Linked DNA regions of Homo sapiens: regions 1, 2, 3, 5, 6 and 7 are each linked to region 4. The links are contacts of gene promoters, found by promoter capture Hi-C in blood cells and fetal thymus (Javierre and others, 2016). All regions are on one chromosome and are shown on one strand. The core of a region is centred on a gene start or on the middle of the fragment in contact, and the rest is flanking DNA. Distances in the headings are between cores, read along the strand shown. Region 1 holds the start of VSIG8 (V-set and immunoglobulin domain containing 8). Region 2 holds the start of SLAMF8 (SLAM family member 8). Region 3 holds the start of PIGM (phosphatidylinositol glycan anchor biosynthesis class M). Region 4 has its middle 4.2 kb from the start of TRR-TCT4-1. Region 5 holds the start of KCNJ9 (potassium inwardly rectifying channel subfamily J member 9). Region 6 holds the start of SLAMF9 (SLAM family member 9). Region 7 holds the start of IGSF8 (immunoglobulin superfamily member 8).

Region 1 (3,659 bases), core at 126-2,625, 730 kb before region 4:
TAAAAATAAATAAGGAAATAAAGATATTCATTGTGTACATCTGGTAGGTCTCAGAGCGCCCTGTTATTGTTGGGAGTTCAGGTGCAACGGCTTGGAATGCAGAGACGCGTGGACTCCTTGTGTTTCCTTAATGTTCTGACTTATTTTTCCCCAGAGGGGTGGGCCCTGGCAGCATCCCTGAGCCCCATAACTCTCCCTAACACTCTTCCTCCTCTGCCCTTTCTGTGCCCCATGGTAGGGATGGGGGCAGTCCCTGACTCCTTTGAGGGAGTTGAGCTATTGAATGGGGTCACTCATGTCCTGACTCCCACCATGGAGTCCAACAAGGCACATGCCCATTCTGTCCCCCTTAGACAAGCCAACAAGGGGTGGCCCTTCACTTGCTCCCCATGCCTACCAGGACCCTCCCCACCCCAGCACGAACTTACCCAGAACTGTGCTGGTTTAGTCAGCCCGATGACCAGTCCAGGTTATGAGGGTCCTTGGTCTCAAGGACCCAGTTAATACTGGGACTGCATTAACCCTCAAGACCTGGCTACTCTTTCTGGGCAGAGAAGCCAGGACACCAAGCGATCCCTCAAGAAGTTCACTCAGAGGGGCTTAGCCATCCTCACAGAGACACCCTGACACAGACATCCTGCCTCCCTCCCACAGACATTGCTGAGGGGTGCACACGCTTACACAGGCACCCCCTTCCCTGGTCCTCTTGGCGCTGTTCTCTCCAACACTCCCTCACTAGCCCATCAGTCACCTTACTCCTAGCACACACCCTGGACCCCCCATAGCACCCCTGCTCCCAGGGGTCCCCTACACTTGGGGATGGCCTTGAGTCGAGTATGGGTGTGGAGGACAGTTCCAGAGGGGACAGCCAGGAGGAGACTCTGTTCCTGCACACACCCCTTCTCTCCTCTTTCAGCTCAGGAGGCCTGAGTCCCTTTGAAAGGCCTGAAGCCTGGGGGAAGGTGGGCTGGACACTCCTGGGGAACCCTATGCCCTGGGATCAGGATTAACTCTTCAGGTCCTGGCCACTCTTTCTCCCAAGCCTGGCTTCTCCTTCCTCTTCCCCACTTCCCCCAGGGAAGGAGGCAGCAAATGAGTGGTGAGGGGAGCCCTTGGAAGCTGTAAATGAGGTGACTGTTGTCACCCTGAGGATGTGGCCAGGAGGAAGTGAAGTTTAACAGGTGCCTAATTACAAGTCCCGCTGGCTGTCCTGTGCCACTCTTAGGACAGGGAAGAGCTTGGGTGAGGGCTGGGTAATGCCCAGGTAGGCCACCCTGTCACCCTGCTAATTAGGGTTCCTGGGACTCCTCCCCAAGGCGGGGACCAGGCCCCCTCCCTCCCATAGAAATAACTCCAGCTGCTCCCCAGCTGGGCACTCATTGCACCTTCCTGCCACCCCAGGCAGTGTCTGGGCCCTCAGCTCCCCCTCCCTCCACCTACCCCCTCACACCCACCACTACGACCCCACGGGATACCCAGCCCAGACGGAGGAAACACCGAGCCTAGAGACATGAGAGTTGGAGGAGCATTCCACCTTCTACTCGTGTGCCTGAGCCCAGGTACGGGGCTGGGCAGGGGGCAGGGTAGCCAGCATGAGGCTAGGTGGGAAGGAAAGGGGCAGCAAGGGCTCACAGTGGAGCCTGGGGCTGCCTGAGTTGCCTGGCAGGGTGCTGCCCACCCTTGCCCTGCTGCAGCCGGGTGTGGGTATTACCAGGGGACCTTTCCCCAGGAGACCCTGTGCCTGATGTTCAGGGTGTGTGTCTGTAGTGCAGAGGTCTTTGAGTGGATCTTTATATGTCCCCTGTCGGGCTCACACATGTGTGCAGGTGCCCTGCAAGCTCATGCCGTGACTAGGAGGAGAGGGATTGATTGCTCTGCAGGAGCTGGAGGTGGGGTAGGAGAGGGGTAAGCACGGGCATTGGGTGAGGGCTCAGGAGGAGCTTGGGAAGGATCAATTTTCATCAGACTGTGTGCTATTCCCAACGCTACTCCTTCTCTCCCAAGGCCAGGGCCAAGGGGCAGGGAAGTCACTTGCCTTGAAAGGGCAAGAGACTAAGTCTGGTGTAAGTCTGAGTGGTTTCTTCCATCATGGCCAGTGACAGCTCAGGCCTGAGACCTCAGCCTTGGGCCCCCTGTGCTATGACAGGGCAGTGCCCCACTCTAGGATGAGGCCTGAGGGTGGTGGGGATGGCAACTCCAGAGACTTCTCACCCCACCAGGACAGGTCCACAGGGCAGGGCTCAAGTTTGGACATTGTGGCTTCCTGCCCAGGTTGGGGCAAGTTCCACCAAGGGGCATTCTATGCCAACATCACTGGAAAGGGCTCCGAGTCCCTCTTGCAGTCTGGATTTGGGATGAAGGGGCATGAAGGAGGAATTTGGGAAGGCGGGGTGACATTTTCAGCCTTTGTGTGAGCGTGAATGTGTATGTGAGTGTGTGGGTGCGTGCACCTGCATGGGAATGATGACATTTCCGGCAGGATAGCTGCAGCCCTTCTCTGTCTGATGAGAGCAGGGCTGGCAGAGTCCACTCGGGAGGCTCCAGCTGTGCTGTGGGGACCCGGACTTCCCCCTGTGTGGTGTGTCAATGGGTGTGTGAGGACAACTCAGCACTGGCTGCATTAACGCATCAATACCCTCAGCTGGAGCCGCCTTTTCTCCCCTCCCTTACCTCCAGAGGGAAGATCAGGAGTTCTGGAAGCACCTTGAAGATTCAGAAAGAATTTGCAAGCAGAGAGTAGGCACCACTATTGAGATGACACCCCGTAAAGCATGGCCAGTTTCTGGTGCTTTTGGGGGGCAAAGAATCACCACTGTCCTCTTCCTTGGAGAGCCCATGTGATTCCTCCATTCCTGTCTCTCCTCAAGTCTCCCATCCAGCTCTCTCTTCCACTTTGCCTTTCTTCCCTCTCTCCAGCCTCTCCTCTCACATTCCCTGTAGTACTTCCTTAGTGCTACAGCAAGAGGAATCAAGGTGAGACATTAGGAGCAACTTCCCAAGGAGAGGGAGGGGTGCGGAAAGGCTGGAACCCTTGGGAGGAGGTTGAGAAGACTTCTAAGGAGATAGAAAAGCTGGGTGAGGCTCCCTGGTCTGGGACAATTGAAGAATCTCTCAGCCTGGTGCAGGGTGGAGGTGCTTTTCTTGCAGCCTGTCGCTCCTTCCCAAGCCCCTCTCCCTGAATGCTTACCATCCTGCCTGGCAGGCTCCTATGGCATGGAGAGAGTCCTTCCTGTGTGGGTGCTTCCAGCGGTGCTTCTCCAGGGTGGAGCCTCTGCTCTCAGCCGAGTTCTGGCTCATCCCTGGCTTGCCTTGAGCAGCCTCAGGATCTGGCAGATGGCAGCAGGATCCTTATCTCAGGAATGAGCTGTTGTTCTCTTGGCCTGGAGCTGGAAGAGGCATCACTAGGTCCCGTTAGAGCCCCAGCAGTCAGCCTGCCTGCTCTGGGTCACCTTGGAGTCTAGCTGGGTTATGACAGAGCTGATGGCCCAGCCAGTGTTCCTAGGGGGGATGTTCAGGGATCCCTGAGCTGTTGAGGGTGTTGAAAGGGCCCTTGCTGGCCTCTCTGGAGCCAGGCTAAGCCTTCCTGGCAGGGCTTCCATAGATATGTCTGGTCTTGAATGAACACATACAGGGACTATATGAACACACGGTGGGTGTGT
Region 2 (4,171 bases), core at 921-3,420, 690 kb before region 4:
ATAGATTAGCTCTGGGGAGTGAAGGAGAAAAAGGAGTCGAGGACGGCTCCCAGGTCCTTGGGATCCACTGGATGTTATTCTCTGTGATCCAGAACAGGAGGAGAAACAGACAGGGGGTGAGAAAGCAAGATGCTGTTTTGGGGGACTATATTTGAGTCAGACGTGTATGGGAGACGCTTCTCCTTGAAGTGCCCCCCTGACTCCTTTGCTGACTAATTTCTGCCCACTCTTGTAGCATCACTGCCTCCTCCGACCTCCCCTATCCCTCATAGGTAATGTAACCAAGAGAGGTTACATATTCTCTCTTGTGTTCTCACAGTGGCCTGGGGCCACCATGCTGACTACCCTTATCCCTCTATTCTTATTGCCTGTTTATGAGTCAGCATCTCCCACTAGACCGTGAGCTCTTTCTCCCCATCGTTTGCTTCCAGTGCCCACCACTGTTTAAGAACAGACTGTGGGAGAAGCCTAGTAAATGGTATTGAATAAATGACCTACCCTGCTGAGGACTGACCCTATGCCTGTCGCTGGCACAGGGTGTAGGGAAGAATAAGAGGTGATGAAGTTTTGGTCAATGAGACATGATCTGGATGGTTGCTCAGTCGGCCATGATAATTCCGGTCCCCCTCTGCCTCACTGTCCTCCAGGCCCAACAACCTCCTCTCACACTGGAGATGACTTCAGTGTTAATGCAGAGCAGGAATGTAACACACAAAGAGAATTGCACTGGATGTCAGCCAAGACCTAGCTGCTCCTACCTGCTCCTCCTGGTGCTGCCACAGATCAGCTGTGTGCCCTTCCACACATCACCCTGCCCCAGGCTTCAGTACCACTGAAAAATAAGGGGTCTGTACCAGGTCAGTCACACAGATCTTTGATCATTAAGGGCCATTTGAAAAATTATTTTTGGGCTGGGTGTGGTGGCTCATGCCTGTAATTCCAGCACTTTGGGAGGCTGAGGAGGGCGGATCACTTGAGGTCAGGAGTTTGAGACCAGCCTGGTCAACATGATGAAACCCTGTCTCTACTAAAAATACAAACATTAGCCGGGTTTAGTGGCAGTGACCTGTAATCCCAGCTACTCAGGAGGCTGAGACAGGAGAATCGCTTGAACCCAGGAGGCAGAGGTTACAGTGAGCTGAGATGCACCATTGCATTCCAGCCTGGGTGACAGAGCAAGACTCCGTCTCAAAGAAAAAAAAAAAAGGCAAATTATTTTTGTCTCACCAAACAGACCAAGGCCTTTTTTGAGGTTAAGGTGTGATTTCCTGCACATGTTTAGAAATATTGAAGAAATCTGCAGGCTTTGGAGCTCTCAGGGCCAGGAACTCAGGCAAGGAGATGAAACAAAGCAACCCAAAGTCCCTATGAGCCTCTGATGTAAACAATATCATCTTAATCTTTGCTGCACCCCATAAACCCTCATCCATGGCCCGGCAGTGTTGACCCATGTCATGTTGGCTGCTTGTTGACCAAGGAAGGGAACTCAGGCATCAGATGGATAGAGGGATCGCCCGGTGTGGAGGAGACCCCGTGTATCAGCCATCCCAACATCACACCACCGTCGGCCACCCCTAAGTCCACGTGGGCCACATTTAGCCTCTCTCATCCCTACTTAGTACTTGCCTCCCCTTATAAAGGCCTGTAGGGAGGGACCTCAGCTCCCCCACAGGCTGTTGAAAACACACTCTGCTGATTGTGGGGAACCCTGCTCTGCCCTGCCCTCTGCTACTCTCCTCAAACTCTGCAGAGTTTCTGCATGCTAACACTGCCGGGTCCTCACCATTCTCACAGCCGACTTTCTCTCCAAACCAGCAGTATCACCCACTGGCTCCGTTTTTACTGCTCTGGGCCACAAAACAGCTCATGTCTCACAGATAAGAATACCCCTCAAGCTGCCACCTCCTCCCTCCCAGGACCCTGCATCTCTTTGTATCTGCCTAGCTTAAAATGTTGCCCAAGAGCTTGTTCTAGTCTTTCCTACCCACCCTCAGCTTCTGGGTTCTCACCCAGGTCGAGGGATCCCTGCCCAGACGTCTGGCATAGGCAGCTGGGGAGGGGCCTTCAGCTCTCCGAGGACAGGCTATCTGCCTGCCCCACTTACCTTCCCAGAGAAGCAGACTCCACAGGGGCCTCATGACCATCTTTCTCTGGAGAGGCAGGCAAACTCCCTCGACAGCCAAAATCCAGAACCTCCCAGGCCGAGTGGATGCACGGGAGGAGCTGTGGTCCTTCTGGAAAGTCCCATGTTCAGAAGGAGGAATCTTGACTCAGAACAGGATGTCCCAAAAGTGAAAACATCCAGAATAAAGTGGAAGTTGTCCCTGGGCCTCTCTGGGCTTACAGGAGCAGATTCTTGTAAGTCAGCCTCTTTCACATGCACATGGTTGGCTAACACGTGGCGACAACAGCCCCCACACAAGCCACATCCTCCTTGCTGGATCTCGCTGGCCTTCCTGCATCTCAGCCTGCCTCACTACTATCTGTCATCCTCATTCTAGCTTAAAATGCTTCTGTGGCCTCCCGTGGACCTGAGGATGAGGACTAACTCTGCTCTGCATGCAGGCCCTCCTGAGTCAGGCCTTCTTCTCCAGGCTGGTCGCCCACAGTCATTCTGCCCTCCAGCCATCCCAAGCCAGAAGGCCTCCTTCTCAGAACTACTGATTTCACACTTCCCTGTGTTGTACTTTCCCCACCACCCCGACTAGGCATGCTGCTCCCTCTATCCTTGCAAACAGAACATGGCTGTGCAGTCGGCGAGGACATCCTTCCAGGCTTCCTGACCACAGGCAGGTGAGAGGCCCTCTCCTTGTGTCCTGTGCATGCCCACACCTCCCTCTTTACTCTTGCTGTGTTGTTGATGACAGTTTTCTGGTTTTCACAGACTGTTTAGCCAGTCTTTTGTTCCCTTCTGTGTTGCCCTCAGTGCTTGGCACATTACAGATGTTTCATGAGTATTTGTTAAGTGAGTGAGTACATTCTAGACATGGCTACACATCTGGCTTTATGTAAGCCTTGCAACTCTCCTCTGAGAGGATCATCTTGTTACCTGGTTAGAAATGGGAAAATGTGAAAACCAGAGTGAGGTTAGGCCCCTTGCAGAGCTCACAGAGAGGCAGAGCTGGAACTTGAACCTCAGCCTTTGAAGTGTGGTCTATTTTGCCACAGTTATCCCCTCCTCATCCTGTTTCTCTTCTCACTTCAAGTTTCTTGGTTTCTTGCCAGTGAAGGTTTTTAGAGGACGTGTTGCCCCTGAGGAAAATTCCTGCTAGTCTGGAGTGTGGCTCATCGTATCTGGTCCTGCACAGCCTCTCGCCTGTCAATCAAACTGGACACTGAGCTTTGGACTCAGCCAGGAACTAGGCATATAGGATGGGGTGGGGGTGGGTGGTGAGCAGGAGGATTTTGGGATAAGGTTTTTGCCCTCCAGGTACTCACAACCAAAATGTAGAGATAGGTACACCAAGGAAAGTGAAGGGTTATCTGCAGACAGACACCACTTTGTGCAAACAGGTAGTCAGTCCTCAGAAGTGGGTGGGAAAGAGGGCTTCGCGGATCTGGGCAGGGGACGCTTCTTGAGAAGGTGGAATTTGAGCTGTGCCTTGAAGATGGGCATGGTTTAGATAATATGAGGAAAGGAGAGAGCCAGAGGTTGGGGGTGGGCTCTGGGCAGGAGGGGAGAGCAGAGCGTGCAGGGATGTGGCTGTGGGAAAATACCAAGTAGGCTCCACAGAGGACAAGGGACAGCAGACAGGAATCCTTTAGGGCTGGGTGGGAAGAATGGAAAAGGAGGTTGGGGGCAGATTGTGGAGGCCTTGAAAACTGGGTTAAGTTCTTCTGGAGACTAGTGGCTCTCAACTGTGTTCAGCACTTGGATTCTCAGAGATGCCATCAGGGTGAGCTAGGGCCCAGGAATCTGTGGTTGTAACAAGCACCCCACTCAGCGTGAGTCTGTGGCTGGTGGACTGGGGGACCGCTCCGGAAGCACTGCTTGAAGAGAGGGGCTGTTGCATGTTTTAAGTAGGAGTGGGAGGACAGCAGGCAGGGCAGGTTGGAGAGAACAAAGGGGCCAGGGAACCTGAACAACAGCTGTTGTCTGTTGTGATGGTCCTGTGAGAAGGAGAAGGGACTGCATATGAAGGAAATGTCTAGAGTACTGAGGAAAGGGCAG
Region 3 (3,730 bases), core at 463-2,962, 890 kb before region 4:
TAGTAATCATCATCATCATAATCATCATTATATGAGTGGTGATGTGCTGCCACTATATATATGGCTAATATACTGCAAAAAAATGGTTAGAATTATCAATCTAAGGCATGTAATGATACCAAGGCATATAAAAGGACATAGAGCTATCACAATATGAATATGGAATATATAAGATTAACACAGTTCATCTCCAAGGGATAAATTGAAGTGTAGGATGGATGAGCAGCAGGTAGTTCTGGGAGCTGCATGTTCAGACTGCATGAAGTCACCTCCTTTTCCTTATTCTAGTCTAGAAGACTTCCCCTAGGAAGCAGGCTTATTCTATAAAATCCAATTAGTCAGTATTTACTAAGCATTTACCATGTGCCTAAGACTACAATAAATTACACATAATTGAAAAAAATTAAGGATAAGATATAATTTCTACCCCCAAGAACCCTATAATCTCTTGTGAGGGCTATGAATACAATCTAAAATAAAGTATCAAATTCTACAATGCGGACTATGTAAGTGCACTAAGTAACCACGGAAAGGGAAGAGCTAATGGGTTACAGTCCTTGGCAAGAAATTCATGGAAGTAGGGTTGGAGTGGGGTGGGGGGAGCAGGGGACCTTGACATACATAAAGGATATTTAAAAGGGAAAATAACTGGGAGTTGGGAGCAATCCAAAGATGCCACTCTAGAAATATTCTGGTAGGAGGAACCTCTAAAATCAATTCAACTTTACTGAATGGCTACTAGTACTGTGTTAGATGTTGAGGTAGAGAAAAGAACAAGATAATCTCTGATACCGAAGAATTGAAAGTGTCCTGATGGAAAACTAGGAGAGCAAAACAAACAAAAACAGTTATTACAAAGCAGTGTGACAAATGCTGTAACAAAGGAATGACCAGGGAGTTCTGGAGCACTGGGAGAACTTTTAGTAGCATGGCAGGGTCTTCTGTGTGAGTGATTTTCTGGAACTTAGATCCCGTCCGCCCCAGTCTACCTATCCTCGGACAGGGGAGGGGACTGGCATCTAAGTCATTCATTCTGCGTGATGAGGAAGTGAGTGGGAGCTGGGAGCTAACACTTGCACTGATGCCTGAAGGGTTGAGTAGGTATTTGCCAGAGTGATTGGAGAGCGGATGGCAACTTTGACAGAAGAAATAGCAAATACAGAGATACTGAGGCATAAGGGGCTGACAAGTTAAGGAATTTTGTGACGCTTTCCTGTCTTCTTTCCCATCACCTTCACCTAGGGTTGCCGGATAAAATACAAGCTGCCCACTTAAATCTGAATCTCTGATTACCAACTAGTAATTTAAAAATATAAGTATGCCTCCAATATTGCATGGAACATACACACTCAGCCCCCTTCAACTCATCCTGTCCTGTCCGGGGCCCACAAATCCCCGGTGAATACCGGCGAGCTAGTGGAGTAAAGCATGAGAAGGCTTATCTTCCTTTCACTCCTACATTTTTCACTCTCGGATCTCCAGCCCAGGACTGAAGGATGTAGCGCGCAGCCCGCAGCTCGCTGCTCGTCGGAGGGTTTTCCTCTGAGGACTGGAAATGGGGCGCGGGAAGAGGGCGGGGGGCGGCGGGCTGTCACTTACAAAGAAATCTCACTCCACTCCATAAAATCCTCAAGCCAGTGCCGGATTTCCCGGCAAGCGGACGTCTCCCCTCCCACGGACCGGAAATCCCGCCTCCGCTGGAAGAAGAAGCGGAAGCGAGACCGTCCATCCAGAGGAAGGCAAGTTTTTGGCTCGGGCGGCTGAGAAGACCGCGCGGGGCTGGAGACAGGTAGCAGTACGGGGGCGGGGCTTCATGCCGGATGTGATAGTCTGCAGTCGTTTCGGTTGGCAGCCTGGCGGGTGGGAGATGCGGCGGCCACCTGCTGCAAAGAACCGAAGGGAAGGTTAGAAGTACGAAGGCAGTTTGGAGCTGGGGCTAAGCAGCTGTCGCACGGTCAGATCATGGGCTCCACCAAGCACTGGGGCGAATGGCTCCTGAACTTGAAGGTGGCTCCAGCCGGCGTCTTTGGTGTGGCCTTTCTAGCCAGAGTCGCCCTGGTTTTCTATGGCGTCTTCCAGGACCGGACCCTGCACGTGAGGTATACGGACATCGACTACCAGGTCTTCACCGACGCCGCGCGCTTCGTCACGGAGGGGCGCTCGCCTTACCTGAGAGCCACGTACCGTTACACCCCGCTGCTGGGTTGGCTCCTCACTCCCAACATCTACCTCAGCGAGCTCTTTGGAAAGTTTCTCTTCATCAGCTGCGACCTCCTCACCGCTTTCCTCTTATACCGCCTGCTGCTGCTGAAGGGGCTGGGGCGCCGCCAGGCTTGTGGCTACTGTGTCTTTTGGCTTCTTAACCCCCTGCCTATGGCAGTATCCAGCCGCGGTAATGCGGACTCTATTGTCGCCTCCCTGGTCCTGATGGTCCTCTACTTGATAAAGAAAAGACTCGTCGCGTGTGCAGCTGTATTCTATGGTTTCGCGGTGCATATGAAGATATATCCAGTGACTTACATCCTTCCCATAACCCTCCACCTGCTTCCAGATCGCGACAATGACAAAAGCCTCCGTCAATTCCGGTACACTTTCCAGGCTTGTTTGTACGAGCTCCTGAAAAGGCTGTGTAATCGGGCTGTGCTGCTGTTTGTAGCAGTTGCTGGACTCACGTTTTTTGCCCTGAGCTTTGGTTTTTACTATGAGTACGGCTGGGAATTTTTGGAACACACCTACTTTTATCACCTGACTAGGCGGGATATCCGTCACAACTTTTCTCCGTACTTCTACATGCTGTATTTGACTGCAGAGAGCAAGTGGAGTTTTTCCCTGGGAATTGCTGCATTCCTGCCACAGCTCATCTTGCTTTCAGCTGTGTCTTTCGCCTATTACAGAGACCTCGTTTTTTGTTGTTTTCTTCATACGTCCATTTTTGTGACTTTTAACAAAGTCTGCACCTCCCAGTACTTTCTTTGGTACCTCTGCTTACTGCCTCTTGTGATGCCACTAGTCAGAATGCCTTGGAAAAGAGCTGTAGTTCTCCTAATGTTATGGTTTATAGGGCAGGCCATGTGGCTGGCTCCTGCCTATGTTCTAGAGTTTCAAGGAAAGAACACCTTTCTGTTTATTTGGTTAGCTGGTTTGTTCTTTCTTCTTATCAATTGTTCCATCCTGATTCAAATTATTTCCCATTACAAAGAAGAACCCCTGACAGAGAGAATCAAATATGACTAGTGTATGTTCCACACCCTCTGCTACTGTGTTACATTCTGATTGTCTTGTATGGACCAGAAGAGAGCTTTGGGACATTTTTTCTGAACATTCTAAGCATTCTAGTGAAAGTTCCCATGTTCCAACAGAACTTAAAAGCAATGTTTGCCTTATATATAAAAGGGACACAATAATTGAGGTCCACCTTCTAGGAAATCCTAGGACTCGTTTATTTGGGACATGGTGGGAATAAAGGTCACATATTGGAAAATGGAAAGGCTGATGAAACTATCAGATACTAAAACATTCTTAAAATAGAGGAATATAGTTAGAGACATCAGGTTTAAGCCAGTATTTGTTCCTGTTTTACAATGCTTCTGTCTTAAGCTGTGTCTTAACTTTTAACACCCATCTTTTCTTTCTAAAGCTTTCCTGACAGCTGTGAAAATCCAAAAAATATTCTTAAACTGTGTATGGTGGCCCTTGCCTGTAGTCTCAGCACTTTGGGAGGCTGAGGTGG
Region 4 (3,953 bases), core at 1,207-3,706:
ACAGCACTGTGCAAATATAGAGGCTATGTTAGTTTTCAAGTTGCTTTTGTCTTTCTCCTAAGCATACGGGGAGGGTACCTGGACACAAAATAGGGAAAGGAAAGGGTCTGAATGCTCAGCCCCTGCCTGGAACATCCAGGGTGGCTGTGTGTCATCAGCAGGGGCAGATGCCACCCTGTGCTACCCTAAGAGGTCTGATTGGAGTTTTCTAGCTGGCAGGATCCTTCAGAGAGCATGTGGTCCCTCTGTGCCTTAGATAGGAGACTTTATCTCAGCCAAGTAGGTAGAGGGTCCTCCTGGCTACCCCACTCAAGGGAACTAGAAGCTTCTGCTTATTTAACTATTGCCTAGCCTTCAACTCTCTTCATCCTGAGGGGTGGTGTTTTGGAGACTTGAAGGATATCACCAGGACTGGGGAAAAGATTTTCCACATGAGTAAAAATTCTTCTGTGTGTGATAACAATTTTCTTCTGAATACATAAGGGATATCTCCTAATTTATGAATATCATAATTACTGTATTTTAAAGATACTCAGAATGTAAAATAGAAATGGGTGTGTTTTTTATGAAGTCACTTCACTGTAGGACTCAAATACTTCAGAGATGCTGGAGCTGATCATTAATTGAAAAGTATGCGGGCAGGATATGTGTTATTTATTATTGTATTCTCAGTGCCTGAAATATGGTAGGCATTTGATGGATATATTTGAAAGAATTAATGCTGACTTCAATTGACTATAAATTATATAGATAGGAAAGAGAAAGAGATTACTCCTAGCTTCCAGGGAGCAGGAGCACAGACAGTATCTTCAGGCATTAATTCACTTATTTAACAAATATTCATCAAGCACCCACTTCATGCCACTTCCCATTATTCCAGGCACCAAAATAGTAGATTCCACCTTCTTCATGGAATACATATTCCCATGATGAAGACAAATGACAGACAGGTAAATAAATATTATAATAGCTAATAGCATTTTAGGTAGTGATATGTACTATGGAGGAATTTAAAGGATGCTTGGGGATGGAGAGTGATGTGATGAATGATGGTTGTGGAAGACCTCTCAGAGGAGGTGGCTTTTGAGTGAAGACCTGAGTGAAGTGAGGGCAATGAGATTTAGGGGATGGGCATTTCAAACAGAGAAACAGCAAGAGCAGAGACTCTGATGTGGGCACCAGCCTGATTGGAAAGCTGACAGGTCAGTGTGGTGGAGTGGGAGGGAGTGATGGGAAGAGTTGGGATTAGAGTTTGATACAGGGCACACCATCTAGGACAATGTTCTCAACCCTATGACATCCAACTCTGCCTTGTTAGGTCCATTATTTCTTCAATTCTTCTCTACTAACCTGCAATGAAATTCATAGATAACATAACTTTCCCATGCCCATAATGAAAACTAATCAATATAATACCCTAATTGTAATGTAAGAGAGGAATAAAAAGAAATAAACTTATAATAAATAGTATACATTTTAGTACATAAATGCCATACCAGCACCCTTGCACCTATATGAAGACCCACCCTGAACGCAACAGCTACATATGCAGACCAGTGCAGGCATGCTGCACTGCTGACTTAAATCTCATGAGGGATGTCGTTCACCAGCAGCGTCCTGGTTTTCCAGACTGGTGAACACTTTTGGATACATTTTTGATCAAAGCAAAGTAAGTCTTCTTGCAAAATGCGCAGTACTTTGCATTCCTGGAAAATTTAGGAAGTTTTAAATCATGCAGAAAACTCTCTAACATATAAAAACAAGTTAGACTCTAAGCTCAGATACCAACACATAGGTTTTATTTTTGTTCGTTTGTTTGAGATGGAGTCTCGCTCTGTCACCCAGGCTGGAGTGCAGTGGCATGATCTCAGCTCACTGCAACCTCCACCTCCTGGGTTCAAGCCATTCTCCTGCCTCAGCCTCCTGAGTAGCTGGGAGTACAGACGCGCACCAACATGCCCGGCTAATTTTTGTATTTTTAGTAGAGATGGGGTTTCACCATGTTGGCCAGGCTGGTCTTGAACTCCTTAGATCAAGTGATCCACCCGCCTCAGCCTCCCAAAGTGCTGGGATTACAGGTGTGAGCCACCACGCCCAGCCCCAGCACGTAGGTTTTAATAGGTCATTCAGGAGTATACATCATGGGTCAATTCCTCTTTGTGAGAGATGCCCTTACACATTCTGGGACTCTTAAGTCCAGCATGCTCTTCCTCTCTACAGCTAACCGTGGCCCCCAATCATTATAACAACAAAAACTATTCCATCAAATTTTCAAACCACTTCTGAGGGGCAATTCTAGTGCCACTGGCAATCACTGACATAAGGCTTGGAGGTGAGGCTTTTCTAAATGTTAGTGAGCACCACTGATGAGTTTGAGTGGAGGTTCTGGTTTCTATGTTAAAAGGCAAATTTTATCTGTTGGTAGAGAACAGACAGAGATAGAATAGACAGGTAGAGAATAGAGTCAGATATGTAGGCAGGTTTAGAGGTCTCCTGGGCCCAAAGCCTTTAGAAGCAGCAAGCTGTGGCACGGTGATTCCCAAGCCGTAGTGCTGTACCACCAGAGGTGGAGGGTTTTGTAACAGTCCACCTACAAAAGTGATTTATCATCTCTGGAGAGCTTACCTGGCCGAGATCACTTATTTTTAAACTAGTTATTTTTATTTATTGTCATTACAATAGTTATTACCTAATGGTAAAAATGTTCATTTTGCTTATATGTAAAGCTGTAGCAAATAGACCTTATCCCAGAAAACATGATTGCAGTGTTTATGTCCTTAGTACTTGCTATAAATTATAATGGAATAGAATATCTTTGAACTATGTGCTCCTTGGAAGTTAGTTGGATCTCTTTGCTTCCATGGTGGTAATATTGTTCAGTGATGATTCTTTTGAGAGAATGAATGGTGAGAAATGGCGTATTATGATAAGGGAAGTTGATAACCATGAGCATAGTAGAAGCAGCAACTTCATGGTAATGACACAGATCTGAGTCTGAATCTGAGGTCTCGCTATTTACTTGTATGAATGTAGACATGCACTAAGTCTAAGTCCCTTGATTTTCTCATCTAGTAAATGATCTAACTAATACCTAGAATTAAATAGGGTAAGCTGTAAAATTGTCGAGGTAGATACATAGGAGGTGCAAACACAAATGCTAACCTCCTTGTTTGTAGTTATTCTTTCTAAACCTTCAGATTGTATGGATCAAGCTAGTTTCTTGGAGGCTGTGCGTGAGGACTTGAGAGATTTTATCTGTGGCCCATGTTTCTAACCATCTTCTTCTTCAAGCGGAGTCCTAGTGGAAGTCAAGACATGCATAATGTATTTTAAATAGTAGTTACCCTCCAAGAGTACGTTCTGCCCATAGTGATCACTGTAAAAGGCCTAGATTTTTCTCTAGGGCTACGAGCAGAGAAGTCCTACAACAATCCTCAGATTCTAGTCCCCGTGGAAAGGGTCGTGTTAGGACTTCTCTGCGTGGGGCAATGCCGGGCTTTAAAGCCTGGGATGAGGGCGAGTGTGTCTATTTTGAGAAGGCAGGTTGGTGTCTACAGAGATGGAATTAGACTAAAAACAAATGCCTGGGGAGCTGGGAAGAGACAGGAGACGAGGGCTTGGCTGTTGTATTCCAGGACAAATCTTTTTCTGGGTGAATTCCTTGCTGTGGACCCAGCTCAGTCCTGAATCTGAAGGGAGCATCTTCTGGCAATCACTAACAATTGCTGATAACTTGTCTTCCTTTGCTACATCTATAGACCACTTTTAAATAAGGAAATGGTACCATCCAAAATATCCGACTGCTTAGAACAAGTTATATTATTTTGAGGGAGCATGAAACTTAAAAAAATTTTCTATTATGTATAAACTTCTAACGGTGCTTTTTAAGGTTTGTGCTTAAGCATGTCTCTAATGGCTGAGGAGAGTGATGGCTTACTTCCAGGTTCAGGAAG
Region 5 (3,931 bases), core at 823-3,322, 940 kb before region 4:
GGGGCCAAAGACCCAGGCCCAGATCCCCCTAGTGATTTCCTGAAATCAATAGACTGGGGGCTTTTTGGGGAGGGGGGCAGGCGGGTAATGGAGCCCTCCCTGCCCTAAGGACTTCCACCATCCCTTCCCCAGCTGTAGCCAGTGCAGCCACCAATGGCTCTCCTCGCAGGCTGTTTTGAAGTTCACCCCAAGACTGATACACAGTCTTTCTCATTCTTCCCTCCTTGGACCTCACTCACTCCGCTCCATTCCCTCCCCTCAACATGCTTACAAACGAGAAAGAAATGAAAGCTGTGGAAAGTCAGTGGAAACCCTCCAGTGCACAAGGGTGGAACATTAGGAAATTCCCACTAGAAATCCTCCCTGAGACCTACCCACGATCACTGCTGCTCTTGGGCCAGCCTCATTTCCCTTGGGTTTTTTCTCCTAGTGGAGACAGCCTGCAAATGGGGAGGGGAACTGGAAGATCCCAACACAGAAGCCTGGGAAAGGAAGCCCAGAGTTATAAAGAGTTAGGCTCGTATCCCTCTGGGATCCTATTCTTCATGAGAGACATGGAATCAGATCAGGTGAAGCACTAAGCACCCACATTTATTTCCCCACTCCCTCTAGTTATATTTTCCCCCAGCCTCTTACTTCCCATGGACTATCCTAACACCAGCCCCGCCCCCACCTGCCATATGCCCCAAAGCCCACATTCCAAGCGAAGCCCACCTGATTTTTCTTCACATGCTTGCCTCTGAGGAGCTCTCTGAGCTGCAATCTGCTCTGAGAGAGGTCCAGAGCCCTTCCCCAAAGCACCCAGGGTCCTCTAGGAGATATGGACCATACAGGGAAAGGTTTAGAATAGGATTTGGGACTCTTCCACCTTCCCTTCTCTTTCCTGGGAATGATCCTCTCCTCCCACTCCACGGAAACGTGGGCTGGCTAGTGGGTGGGGGATGGAGGAGTGTGCCATAGGAACCACAGATGGCCTGGATGGTTGACCAGGTCCTGGGGAGAAACTGCCTGGGTATGTGACTCTAAACCTAGCACTCCAGCATCTTATGTTCTGGGGTGAGGTCCTCTGCAGTCAGCACTCTGGAGAGGGTGTGTGTGTGTGTGTTTGTGTGTCTTGGGGTAGAGAAGGTAGGAAGAGAAATCAAAATGAAATGGCTTTGAGCTTAGGGGCACCCCCTGCATTTATTGTCCATGGAGTCAGGGGACACAGGGTCCAAGAGCCCCATGGCAATGGAAGATTAGGGTTTCCCCTGCCCCCAACAATGGGCTTCCTTTTCCTTCCCTGAAGCTCAGATGTCCTCAGGAAGAGTAAGCATTGACTGGCTCAGAGACCCCAGGTCATGCAGAAAACGACCCTGCTCCCATTATCCTAGCTTTAGTCCCAGGTGGGCTTCCAGATGTTCTCTCAGGGTCTTAGGTAATCTGACCCCCAGTCGGCTTGCCTAGACAGATCTCTCTGCCCAGGGATGGGGAAGGAACCCCGATGTCGGATCACCCCCAGAACTCTCTCACTCTCCATTGCCCCAGGGATCTAGGTAAACCTTATTTTGAATGTGTCCCACATCCTGTCTTCCTGAGTGGGGGACTGCACTTTTCTCAGGGGAAGGAAAAGTGTGAAATTGTTACCTCTATCTCAAGATCAAGGACTTGATTTCTCCATCTTCCCTCCAAGAATTTCAGTTCCTCCAACCTACTCCTCATTTCTTGTGCATGCTATGACCCCTTTGCAGAAGATTGCAATACCACTTTTCCTGGGCCCCTCTTCCTCCCTCTAGAGAGCTGGGGAGTAAGGGGGCTCATTTTTTGGAAGGAGAGACCTGGTGAAAACTCCCCCAAGAACCAGCTCCTCCCAAACCCCCACTTGCCTTGGAAATAGGGGCCCAAACCCCAAGTCCCCCGCAACTCAACTCACAGCACGTGGAGAGGAGAGTAGCCGGCAGCAGAGACCCCTGGGGGGTGGCGTCCATGCCCCTGACACCGCCCCCCCCACGGGCCCCCCGAAGGGTGGGAGCCGCAGACACCGCTGTTTCTCCTAAATGTAGCGGCAGCTCTGACTAGGACTTGCTATCTGTGTCATCCCTACTTCCCAGGCTCCCCTGCTCCTCTCTTGTTTCCACGGCAACCAGTCTGGCGACAGCTCCAGAGCATCCCCCTCCCCTCCCCAGTCCTGGGTACCACTAGGGGTTGATCCAAACCACACGCCATAGCTATTTTTAGCCAAAGTCCCTCCTCCTGGACAACTCAGAGCTTGGCTCCTCACCCCCTCATAGGAAAAAAAAAAAAAGAAGAAGAAAGAAAAACAAAGCTGGCACGCTGGCTCTTTCCTAAGAAGCTCCTTCCTGGGGGAAAATACAAGCCCTCATGTATTTGAGAATAAGGTGCTAGGTTCCCTGGGGTTTCAGAGGGCCATCTGGTAGCTGGCAGCTCACCACCTTCAACATGGGTCTCTGCGTGCAGGTGCTGCTCTCAGGTCAGGCTGACCATCATGGTCTAGTTTTGGAGAGGCCATGGATCCAGAAGGCGGTAGCTAGAAGGAAAATAGATCTACTAAAGGAAGGGAGGCAGGGTCAGGGGTTCTAATTATTGCCACTGATTTGCACTGTGTCCCATAGGAGTCACTTCACTTCCCTGAGCCACAGTTATTCCATCTGTACCAGGGTGTGGACAAGAGCAAATATCCCCTTTCTGCCTGCTTCACAGAGTCAGCAGATCAAACGAAGAAAAAACAAACAAACAAAAACCAAAAAAACCACAAAGGGCTTTGAAATGTGTTTTATTCATAGCAAAAACCCTAGAAACAACCCAAATGTCCACCAGAGAGAAAAGCCTAGGTTAGGGCTTACTAAGTATTCACTCGGCAAACTTCTGCGGAGCCCAAGTGCCAGGCAGTGTGTTAGATGGGGTGGTTACAGAATGGGTGAGTCCCTGCCCACAAGGAGCTCATTAACCCAGGAGGGATAAAGACACACAAACACACAGTGGCTGCTGCTACTAATTCACTGAGCATGGGATATGAACGAGACACATGCCTCATGTCATCCCCATGGCAACTCTATAAGACAGGTGTTATTTTTCCCAGTTATAGATGAGGAAACTGAAACAGAGACATGTTAAGTAATTTATCGAATGTCACAGAGTTGGGCAGAGACAGGAGCCAAACTCCCACATCTGTATCACCTCATGCTTTGTAAATTGTTTTAAAAGAAGACTTCTTAAAGGGTAGTTTTAGATTCAGAGCAAAACTGAGAGGAAAGTTATAGAGATTTTCCGTATGCCCCCTGTCCCCACACATCCACCAGAATGGCACATTTGTTACAAGTGATGAAGCTACATTGACATCATAATCGCCCAAAGTCCATAGCTGACATTAGGGTTCACTTTTGGTGTTGTACACTCTGTGGGTTTGGACAAATATATAATGATGTGTATCCACCATTATAGTCTCATTGCTGTAAAAGTCCTCTATGCTCTGCCTAGTCAATCCCCCTTCCCTAACCCCTGGCAACAACTGCTCTTTTTCCTGTTTCCATAATTTTCCTTTTCCAGAATGTCATGTCGTTGGAATTGTACAATATGTAGCCATTTCAAATTGGCTTCTTTCACTTAGTAATGTAAATTTAAGGTTCCTCCATGTCTTTTCATGGCTTTGTAGTTCATTTCTTTTTGGCACTGAATAATATTCCATTTCAGGATGGCCATGGTTTATTTATCTATTTACCTACTGAAGGACATCTCGGTTGCTTTCAAGATTTGGCCATGATGAATACAGCTGCTATAAACATCCATCGGCAGATTTTCATGTGGACGTAAGTTTTCATCTCCTTTGGGTAGATACCAAGGAGCATGATTCCTGGATCGTATGGTAAGAGTATGTTTAGTTTTTTAGGAAACTGCCACACTTTCTTCCAAAGTAGCTGTACCATTTTGCATT
Region 6 (3,786 bases), core at 678-3,177, 820 kb before region 4:
GATAGTATTCCATTGTGTATATATCTACAATTTCTTTACACATTCATCCATTGATAGACACTTAGGTTGATTCCATATGTTGGCTCTAGTGAATAGTGCTGCAATAAGCGTGGAGTGCAGATACCTCATTAACATACTGATTTCATTTCCTTTGGATGTATACCCAACAGTGGGATTGCTGGATCTAATTTTATTTGTTAAACAGATTTATTACATAAAAACGTTTTATACTCAGACTGAAATCTGGTTCACCTTTAAGAAAAAATTCTAATCCCTCAGGTTTTATACTCATAAATTGAAATTTAAGAACTACTCACTTCATTATCTTCTTCACTAAGCAGATTCTACCAATCTTTGAAGAACTAAGGTCTCATCTTAAATATCTCTCCTTGATAGCTTTTCCCCAACCCTCCTGACTCCAACTTTGCCAAATCGCCTTATTATAGGCTCCTTCAATTATTCCTTTGGTAAGATTCATCAAACTTGTAGTTACTTGTCCAATGTCAATTGTTAGCATTATGAGCTCCATGAAGTCACGATCTAAAATTCTTGGTCACTGTTAATTCCCCAGCACTTAAGACAGTGTATGGACCATAGAAGCTACTCAATAAACATTTAACAGATTTCTGAATTTGCTAACCTAAAACTAGGAAATGTTGGCACAAGACCAAAGCTGAATACGTCTTCCTCTATTGTTCCCTTGGTCTTGAGACACCACTCTTCACAGCACAGACTCATAAAATTGATTATTAGAAGAAACTTAAAGATTATCCAGTCTGAGAATCCATCTGATGGCAGAGATGTTGCAGATAATCCAAGCAAGTGATTGTCCTCTTAGCTTGAATACTAGGGACAGAAGCTACTTTCTAAGGCAGCCCATTGCATCCAGAACAGCTTTGACTGCCAGGAAGCTATTTAATAACCCTGATCCTCTGCAGTCTCTTCTTGAATCTGAATTCATATAAGTTGATCAACATTGTATTCTCACAAAACGATTTAAAGTCTTTTCATAATATGAACAACATAGATCAACTCTCTGATCAAACTACTTTTTTTTTTCTTCTCTCTTTTTTTTTTTTTTGCTTTGAGACAGAGTCTTGCTCTGTCACCCAGGCTGGAGTGCAGTGGCACAATCTTGGCTCTCTGCAACCTCCACCTCCTGGGTTCAAGTGATTCTCTTGCCTCAGCCTCCTGAGTAGCTGGCATACAGGGGCACGCCACCATGCCCAGCTAATTTTTGTATTTTTAGTAGAGACGGGGTTTCACCATGTTGGCCAGGCTGGTCTCAAACTCCTGACCTCAGGTGATCTGCCTGCCTCGGCCTCCCAAAGTGCTGGGATTCCAGATGTGAGCCATTGCACCCGGCCAAACTGCTTTCTTAAAGAGGATTGAATCAAATGTTTTTCCCCTGCGAATAGCCTCTCAGGTGGGAACATAACTAGCTTTAAATAAAAAGGCTTAATCATTCATCCATTATAAAGCTATCAATTGAGTGCAGACACATGTCTAGTATGGGGCCAGCAATAATGGGACATACACAGGAAATGAAAGATGAAGTCTGTCTGGGGAGATATAGATGTTTATAAGATCAAATGATCACAGCAACATAGGAATTACCCAGAGAGAGCTAGGGAAGAATATCCTGGGAGCCAAATAACAGGATAGGGAATGTTCTACGAGTTCGGGGCATGCAGTACGTGCGGGGACCTGGGGCGGGTAGGAAGTCTTGAAAGACTTCATTTAGGAAGTGGGATTTGGGCTGAGTTTGGTGGATGGCATCATGAGTCAGTGAGTAAACTGTCATGACAATCAGGATCTGAAAGAGAACTAAGAGAGCCATGATACATAGGGAGGGGCTTAGTGAGGACAGAGGACGTCAGAGGGCTGTAGTCAGGGGAAAATTATTTCCCTTTTCTCAGGACCATCAGTCAGGCTCTTTGTGTCTAGGAGCCTCCTAATGCAGTCTTCTGCACAGTCCTGGGGACTGACTGACTGAATCACACCTCTGGGGCTGGGGGCTGCTGACATGTGTGCCTTTCCTTGGCTGCTTCTTCTCCTGCTGCTCCAGGAGGGTGAGTGAAGCTGCCAGCTCGTGCACAGGAATGTCCCCTACACCTCTGTTCCCCTGCCCCACTGGGTCTGGGCCAGTAAGACCCTTTCTTAGGGGTTGAATGTGTCAGCTCTTCTGGAGTTACAAGGAGTAGGGTGTGTGGCTTCAGGGCAGGACCGAGAGACACCTGGGGATATGGAAGAAAGAGCAATCCCAAGATGGCAAAGGAGAAGGTAAAACTTGGAGGGTGAAGGGACAGATGGAAGCAAACTCCTTTTAGGTGCTTAACTCAGGGAAAGGGGAAATCTAGAGTCAGAAGCAGCAGCTGGAGAACAGGATTTAGTGTGAGAGTCATAGAAGCTGCCCAGCTGAGATTACGCTACTCTGGCAGCTCCACTGCCAGGTTCAGCAGCCCAGAGACAGCAGCTGGGTTGTTTGCTTCTCTTTTCTTCCTGCATAGGCAGCCAAAGGAGACTCTGGAGATGGTGTGGATCCGAGGAAGTGGTTGCGGTCCTTCAGGAGTCCATCAGCCTCCCCCTGGAAATACCACCAGATGAAGAGGTTGAGAACATCATCTGGTCCTCTCACAAAAGTCTTGCCACTGTGGTGCCAGGGAAAGAGGGACATCCAGCTACCATCATGGTGACCAATCCACACTACCAGGGCCAAGTGAGCTTCCTGGACCCCAGCTATTCCCTGCATATCAGCAATCTGAGCTGGGAGGATTCAGGGCTTTACCAAGCTCAAGTCAACCTGAGAACATCCCAGATCTCTACCATGCAGCAGTACAATATATGTGTCTACCGTGAGTTTAGGCTGGGAACCATAAAGCTGGTTTTGGGGGCTCTTCTGAGCTTCTCACACCATGGAGTGGGCGTCTCAGGACTTGGGGTTATGGTTTGAGGGGCTAGAACTGGAGGCAGACTGTCTCCAATCTAGATACTGTGATTGAGTGTGCCCAATCCACCTGTTGTATCTGAACCGCAGCAACAGGCGGAGTGACCTGGAGCAAGGAGGCTGTCCGATGCAGTGGCAGGGATCAGGGGCTTCATGTACAGATCCTGTAGGGGGCTTTTCTCTTCCAGTGAAATTGTGTTCTGGGGATGAACACCACCTACATTCTTGAGCCTTTTATTTCCCTGTGTGATGAGGGCTACTAATGAGTATCTTCTCTTTACTTGAACCCAAATTTCTTCTTAGTGTCTGTCACACTGCATCTACCTTGAAGCTTGAAGGGACACTGATTAAAATGTAAATGCCCCTGAGAGGGGCGATAATATTTCATGGGATCAAGGAGACAGAATGGGGTTTGGAGGAAGGTAGAGTACAAAAGTAAGAGAGAGAATACGTAAAGGGGAGGTGGAAGATGCCAAAGGCAGCTCTGTCTTCCTTGACAGTTGCCTTGGGGACCTTGAAACCACAGGTTTTATGGTGGTTGGGTTTGTTTGCTTTTGCCTATTTGTTGTTTAGGTGCAGGGGCTGTCAAGGGGTAGCATTAGTACCCCAGGTTTGAGGAGCTTAGGAAAACAGACCCGATCCCTGATTGTTTAGAGGGTCTTTGTGTTTCCCCTTCATCCAGGATGGCTGTCAGAGCCCCAGATCACTGTGAACTTTGAGAGTTCTGGGGAAGGTGCCTGCAGTATGTCCCTGGTGTGCTCTGTGGAGAAGGCAGGCATGGATATGACCTACAGCTGGCTCTCCCGGGGGGATAGCACTTATACATTCCATGAAGGCCC
Region 7 (3,724 bases), core at 229-2,728, 960 kb before region 4:
CTCTCTGGGCCTCAGTTTCCTCTTCTGTAAAGGGGGGTGAGTGAGTGGGAGGGAAGGGGGATGAGAGGGGAGAGGGAGGATGTTGGAGGGTAGAGGGTGGTAAATGGGCTCTGGGGTCACCTCCCACTGACAGCCACTCTGACAGCCTTGGCTTTGCAAACCTGGCCATCTCTTCTCCCCATTCTGGTCTCATCCTTCCTGCCCCTGCCCACTTCCCATCTTTACAGTTCAGGAAGAGACAGAGCACCTGGGAAGGGTGCCTCCTCCATTCTCCCACCTCCAGGGCAAGCCCCACTCTTCCTAGAACAGAGCAATGTTCATCTCTTCCCACTGTCACTGAACATAGAGACTCCTTCACCTAAATGCCAGGTCTAAACTAAGCCTCTTAGGAAGCAGTTCAAATAATAATTCAAAACCTAAAACAAAATAATCCTTATCTCCCATTTTGTGTTAGTTTCCTGTGCCAAACACTTTATGTACATTACCTATCATCACAATAACCCTTTGGGTGATGTGATCAACCTCAATTCAATTTGCAGAGGAGAAAACTGAAGTTGAAGGAGGTTAAACAACTGGGCTAGGATCACCCAACCCAGAAATGACGTCACATGGACGGCCCCCTCTCCTAATCCATTTTTCTTTTGGTTTTGCCCTCTGAGGGGGTGAAAAACAGGTCTCCAGTGACCTTCTGGATCCTGGAAGCGCCCTTCAGCTCAAACCCTTCGCATTCAGGAACTCCTGGCTTCCGCCAACCCCTACTTCAGCAGGGTTTGCAGCGAGGACTATGGCTCAGAGCAAATAACTGAATTCTAAATGCGTGGTCACAGTCACCTCGCCAATCCCAGGGACCCTGCACCCAACTCTCCAGGAAAGGCTGGCAGGTGCGGGGTGGAATGCGCTCTGTGCGAGGGTGGGTGGGAATTTCGATGCGCAGAGGTGCAGTTAGCTCACTCCTGCGGGGGCCTCGGGCGGAGCCAGGGCCAGGGGCGGGGCGAGGCCGGGGTCCAGGGCGGAGCCAGGATTGGAGGCTGACGTTAGCCCTGCGGGGACGGGGAAGGGGTGCGGCTTGGGACTGGGGCGGGGCCGGGGCCCGGGGAGGAGCCAGGATTGGAGTCCGACTGTAGTCCTGGTGGGGCGGGGCGGGGGAGGGGCCGGAACTGGGGCTGGGCCGAGGCCCGGGGCGGATCCAGGGCTGGAGTCTTGGCGGGGCGGGGCGGGGAGGGGCGGGGCCGGGGCGGGGCTGGGACTCGATGCGACTCAAAGGTGAGTTTCGAGGGGCGGGGCGGGGCCGGGGCCAGGTGCGGAGCAAAGGCCGGAGTCTGGCGGGGGTGGGGCAGGCAGGGCCAAGGCTGGGTCCGGGGCGGGGCGGGCCTAGACGGGGCGGTGGAAGGGGCGGTGCCGGGGCGGGCCGGGGCGAGAATGGTTTCAGAACTGCCGAGGGCTGGAGGGAAAGCAGCGGGAGGGGCGGAGGGAGGGGATTCGGCAGCTCCAGTTCAGCTCGCTCGGCGCACCCACGCCTCGCTGCCCCGCTTCCTGCCCTCAACCTGGGCATGCGCCCCCCACCCTTCCGGCCCCCCAGAACCCGCGCCATCCCCCGGAGCCTCCCCAGAGCTGGCCGCGCAGGATGGGCGCCCTCAGGCCCACGCTGCTGCCGCCTTCGCTGCCGCTGCTGCTGCTGCTAATGCTAGGTAAGCCAGGCCCCCGTTCCGGTTCCCGGCCCTGCCGGGCAGGTGCCTGCCATCCAGCACCCCCCTAGCATTTCGGGGCTCCTCACATCCTCCTCCGTCAGGGGTACCTCCAGCCTCCCCGGGGTCGGCGTCCAGCTGCGCTTTGTGGCTGTCCGCCGAGCCAGTCTTGGGAAGAGTGCAGGCTCCCCAGCTCTAAGCCAGGGACTGGGGCGTAGAGAGGACCCACTAAGGTGCTGCCCCAGGCACTGCTCGGCCTCCCGGGGCAGGCCACACATCTCAGCTAGCATACCCACGTACTGGGGTCGCTGCACCAAATGCTGCGACTCCTTTCTGCCCCACACTCAGCTCCAGGCCTGGCCTTGGGTGCCCGCCCTACGAGGGCAGTGCCTGCCCAGCTTCATAATTGCCCCAGAGTTGGCTGGAGGCCCAGAGGCCAGTTCTGCCCACGATCTTTGAAGTAAGTCTCTCCCAGTTGCGCTCCACGCACTTCATCAACTGGGGGCAGTTCCCTCTCTCACCCCCATCTCCACCCTGGGTTGGGTCCCTCTTTGCCCTTCTTCCTGTCTCCCAAATGGCACTTGGCTCTGCAGCCACCCATCAGTTTTCACACCGCTTAGTTCCAGCTTCCTTGCCTCAGGAGAAACCAGGTTCCATGGAGACTGATCCTGGGATCTCCAAGCACCTTGTGCCTGCTGTGGTGGGTGTTCATGGTGGGGTGTTCTGGGCCAATCTTGCATGGATGCATGGGGATAATGACAGTGGAATTGTTTTTGGCCTGAACTGGAGGGCTCCCTGTAGGAGGTGGTCTGGGGAAGAGTATGGCATGGAGACAGTGAAACTGCCAGTACAGATGTTGATGAGGCTGAAGCCCTTGAAATGAGAGTGAAGCGTGGGGGTGGGGATGGTGACTTCAGAGCTGCTGTCGTCAAGGCAGAGGCTGAAGGTAGCCCCAGCTGCCTGTTTCTAGACCAGAGCTCCACAGTGGCACCAAGCAAAGCCTTCCCCTGCTGCAGGTCCCTGGGCCCTGCAGGGTTAGGATGAGTCCTCTCCCTGGTCCCTGGGCAGGTGGCAGGAGGATGTACAGAGAGGAAGGCGCTGTGGGGCCTGGGTTGCCTAGCACTTGGTGTGTTTTCCCCAGTGGGCAGCATGGAGCAGGGAGGAGCCCAGGGAGGTGGGGAAGTGCTGGCCTGTGTTTGAAAAAGGAGCACGCAGAGGTCTGAGCACCCACTGCCTGTGGGCACTTACATTCATTTCACAAATGAGGAAAATGAAGTAACTTGCCCCAGAGAGCACATTTAGTGAGTGTTGGGGCTAGGATTTGAACACAGATCTGATTCCAAAGCAGGCCTCTTTGCTGTCCCTTTCCTTGCTGCGACTGATACAGAGGAGGGGAGAGAGAGCTGTGTGGCAACTGATTTCCTAAGGCTGTGGAGGTGACTTTCCCATGGGCATCTCCAAGCATCAGCAGTTGTGGAGCCAGGAAAATGGGAGGGGGCCTTCTGAGCAGTCTGCCCTGAGGCAGTCAGGGAAGGTGTCAGCTTGGCTGTCTCCACCGTCACTCTGATTATGAAACTTGCCTGGCCTGGGGCAGGGCTCTCCTGAGTCACATACGCACTCACACATGGTCAGAGCTGGAGCTCTTAGTTCTCCTCCAGTGTGGAAACTGAGGCCTAGGACAGAAAGAGACTGGATCCCAGGCCACACAGCTGGGCATGGGGATGGTGCTGGAATCCCACTTCCTGACTGGCAGCTGTGCCCTTAACAACAGACCATGAGTTCTCCCTGTGACCCAGCCAGAGGATGAAGGAAGGGGCTAGGAGCCCAGAAGCAGGGGTGGGGAAGTTCAGAGGAGCCGTTCTAGAGAAGCTGGAGGGTAGAGTTTGACCACAGACTCCTGGGCATTTTCCTCTAGCTCCTGCAGAAAGTCCATGGTATCCCCCTGGGAGGCCTAAAAGTGACACTCTGGTTGGTGAGGTCAGTCCCTTCAGGCCTGGCCTTGGAGTTTCCCCATCTTCCTCTCTGGTTTTGCCCCTCTG

What was found. The method cuts DNA at HindIII sites, captures the fragments that hold promoters and counts their contacts. A CHiCAGO score of 5 or more calls a contact.
Region 1: the fragment with the promoter of VSIG8 here is called in contact with a fragment that was not itself captured in region 4 in 5 of 17 cell types (neutrophils, erythroblasts, total CD4 T cells and 2 more); the score reaches 7.0 in neutrophils.
Region 2: the fragment with the promoter of SLAMF8 here is called in contact with a fragment that was not itself captured in region 4 in 2 of 17 cell types (endothelial precursors and erythroblasts); the score reaches 6.7 in endothelial precursors.
Region 3: a contact is called between the fragment with the promoter of PIGM here and a fragment that was not itself captured in region 4, in 5 of 17 cell types (M2 macrophages, endothelial precursors, neutrophils and 2 more). The highest score is 11.7, in M2 macrophages.
Region 5: the fragment with the promoter of KCNJ9 here is called in contact with a fragment that was not itself captured in region 4 in 2 of 17 cell types (neutrophils and endothelial precursors); the score reaches 6.9 in neutrophils.
Region 6: a contact is called between the fragment with the promoter of SLAMF9 here and a fragment that was not itself captured in region 4, in 2 of 17 cell types (neutrophils and megakaryocytes). The highest score is 7.4, in neutrophils.
Region 7: the fragment with the promoter of IGSF8 here is called in contact with a fragment that was not itself captured in region 4 in 1 of 17 cell types (neutrophils); the score reaches 5.3 in neutrophils.

What each region holds. Positions count from the first base shown.
Region 1 is chr1:159,860,373-159,864,031 of GRCh38, reverse strand. VSIG8 (V-set and immunoglobulin domain containing 8) reads left to right here and starts at 1,375. Exons shown (of 7, transcript NM_001013661.1): 1 at 1,375-1,559. The coding sequence starts at 1,511. It overlaps LOC107985216 (a long non-coding RNA gene), which reads right to left. Exons shown (of 2, transcript XR_001738263.2): 2 at 1-3,386. RefSeq lists enhancers at 1,047-1,959, 1,960-2,874. The HindIII fragment of the contact is 16,901 bases long and covers 1-3,659 here.
Region 2 is chr1:159,824,872-159,829,042 of GRCh38, reverse strand. It overlaps SLAMF8 (SLAM family member 8), which reads right to left and starts at 2,170. Exons shown (of 5, transcript NM_020125.3): 1 at 2,105-2,170. The coding sequence starts at 2,144. The HindIII fragment of the contact is 24,464 bases long and covers 1-4,171 here.
Region 3 is chr1:160,029,972-160,033,701 of GRCh38, reverse strand. It overlaps PIGM (phosphatidylinositol glycan anchor biosynthesis class M), which reads left to right and starts at 1,712. Exons shown (of 1, transcript NM_145167.3): 1 at 1,712-3,730. The coding sequence starts at 1,963. The coding sequence ends at 3,234. The HindIII fragment of the contact is 5,226 bases long and covers 1-3,639 here.
Region 4 is chr1:159,135,522-159,139,474 of GRCh38, reverse strand. It overlaps a transcript of AIM2 not described here. Among named protein-coding and RNA genes, the nearest start is that of TRR-TCT4-1, 4.2 kb to the left of the region's middle. The HindIII fragment of the contact is 4,258 bases long and covers 328-3,953 here.
Region 5 is chr1:160,079,679-160,083,609 of GRCh38, reverse strand. It overlaps KCNJ9 (potassium inwardly rectifying channel subfamily J member 9), which reads right to left and starts at 2,072. Exons shown (of 3, transcript NM_004983.3): 1 at 1,913-2,072. The HindIII fragment of the contact is 8,750 bases long and covers 1-3,931 here.
Region 6 is chr1:159,952,378-159,956,163 of GRCh38, reverse strand. It overlaps SLAMF9 (SLAM family member 9), which reads left to right and starts at 1,927. Exons shown (of 4, transcript NM_033438.4): 1 at 1,927-2,072; 2 at 2,511-2,855; 3 at 3,630-3,786. The coding sequence starts at 2,027. It overlaps LOC124904438 (a long non-coding RNA gene), which reads right to left. Exons shown (of 3, transcript XR_007066684.1): 3 at 2,502-2,587. The HindIII fragment of the contact is 4,086 bases long and covers 1-3,280 here.
Region 7 is chr1:160,096,373-160,100,096 of GRCh38, reverse strand. It overlaps IGSF8 (immunoglobulin superfamily member 8), which reads left to right and starts at 1,478. Exons shown (of 7, transcript NM_052868.6): 1 at 1,478-1,688. The coding sequence starts at 1,625. RefSeq lists a silencer at 894-1,723 and enhancers at 2,290-2,816, 2,817-3,345, 3,346-3,724. The HindIII fragment of the contact is 5,064 bases long and covers 1-3,724 here.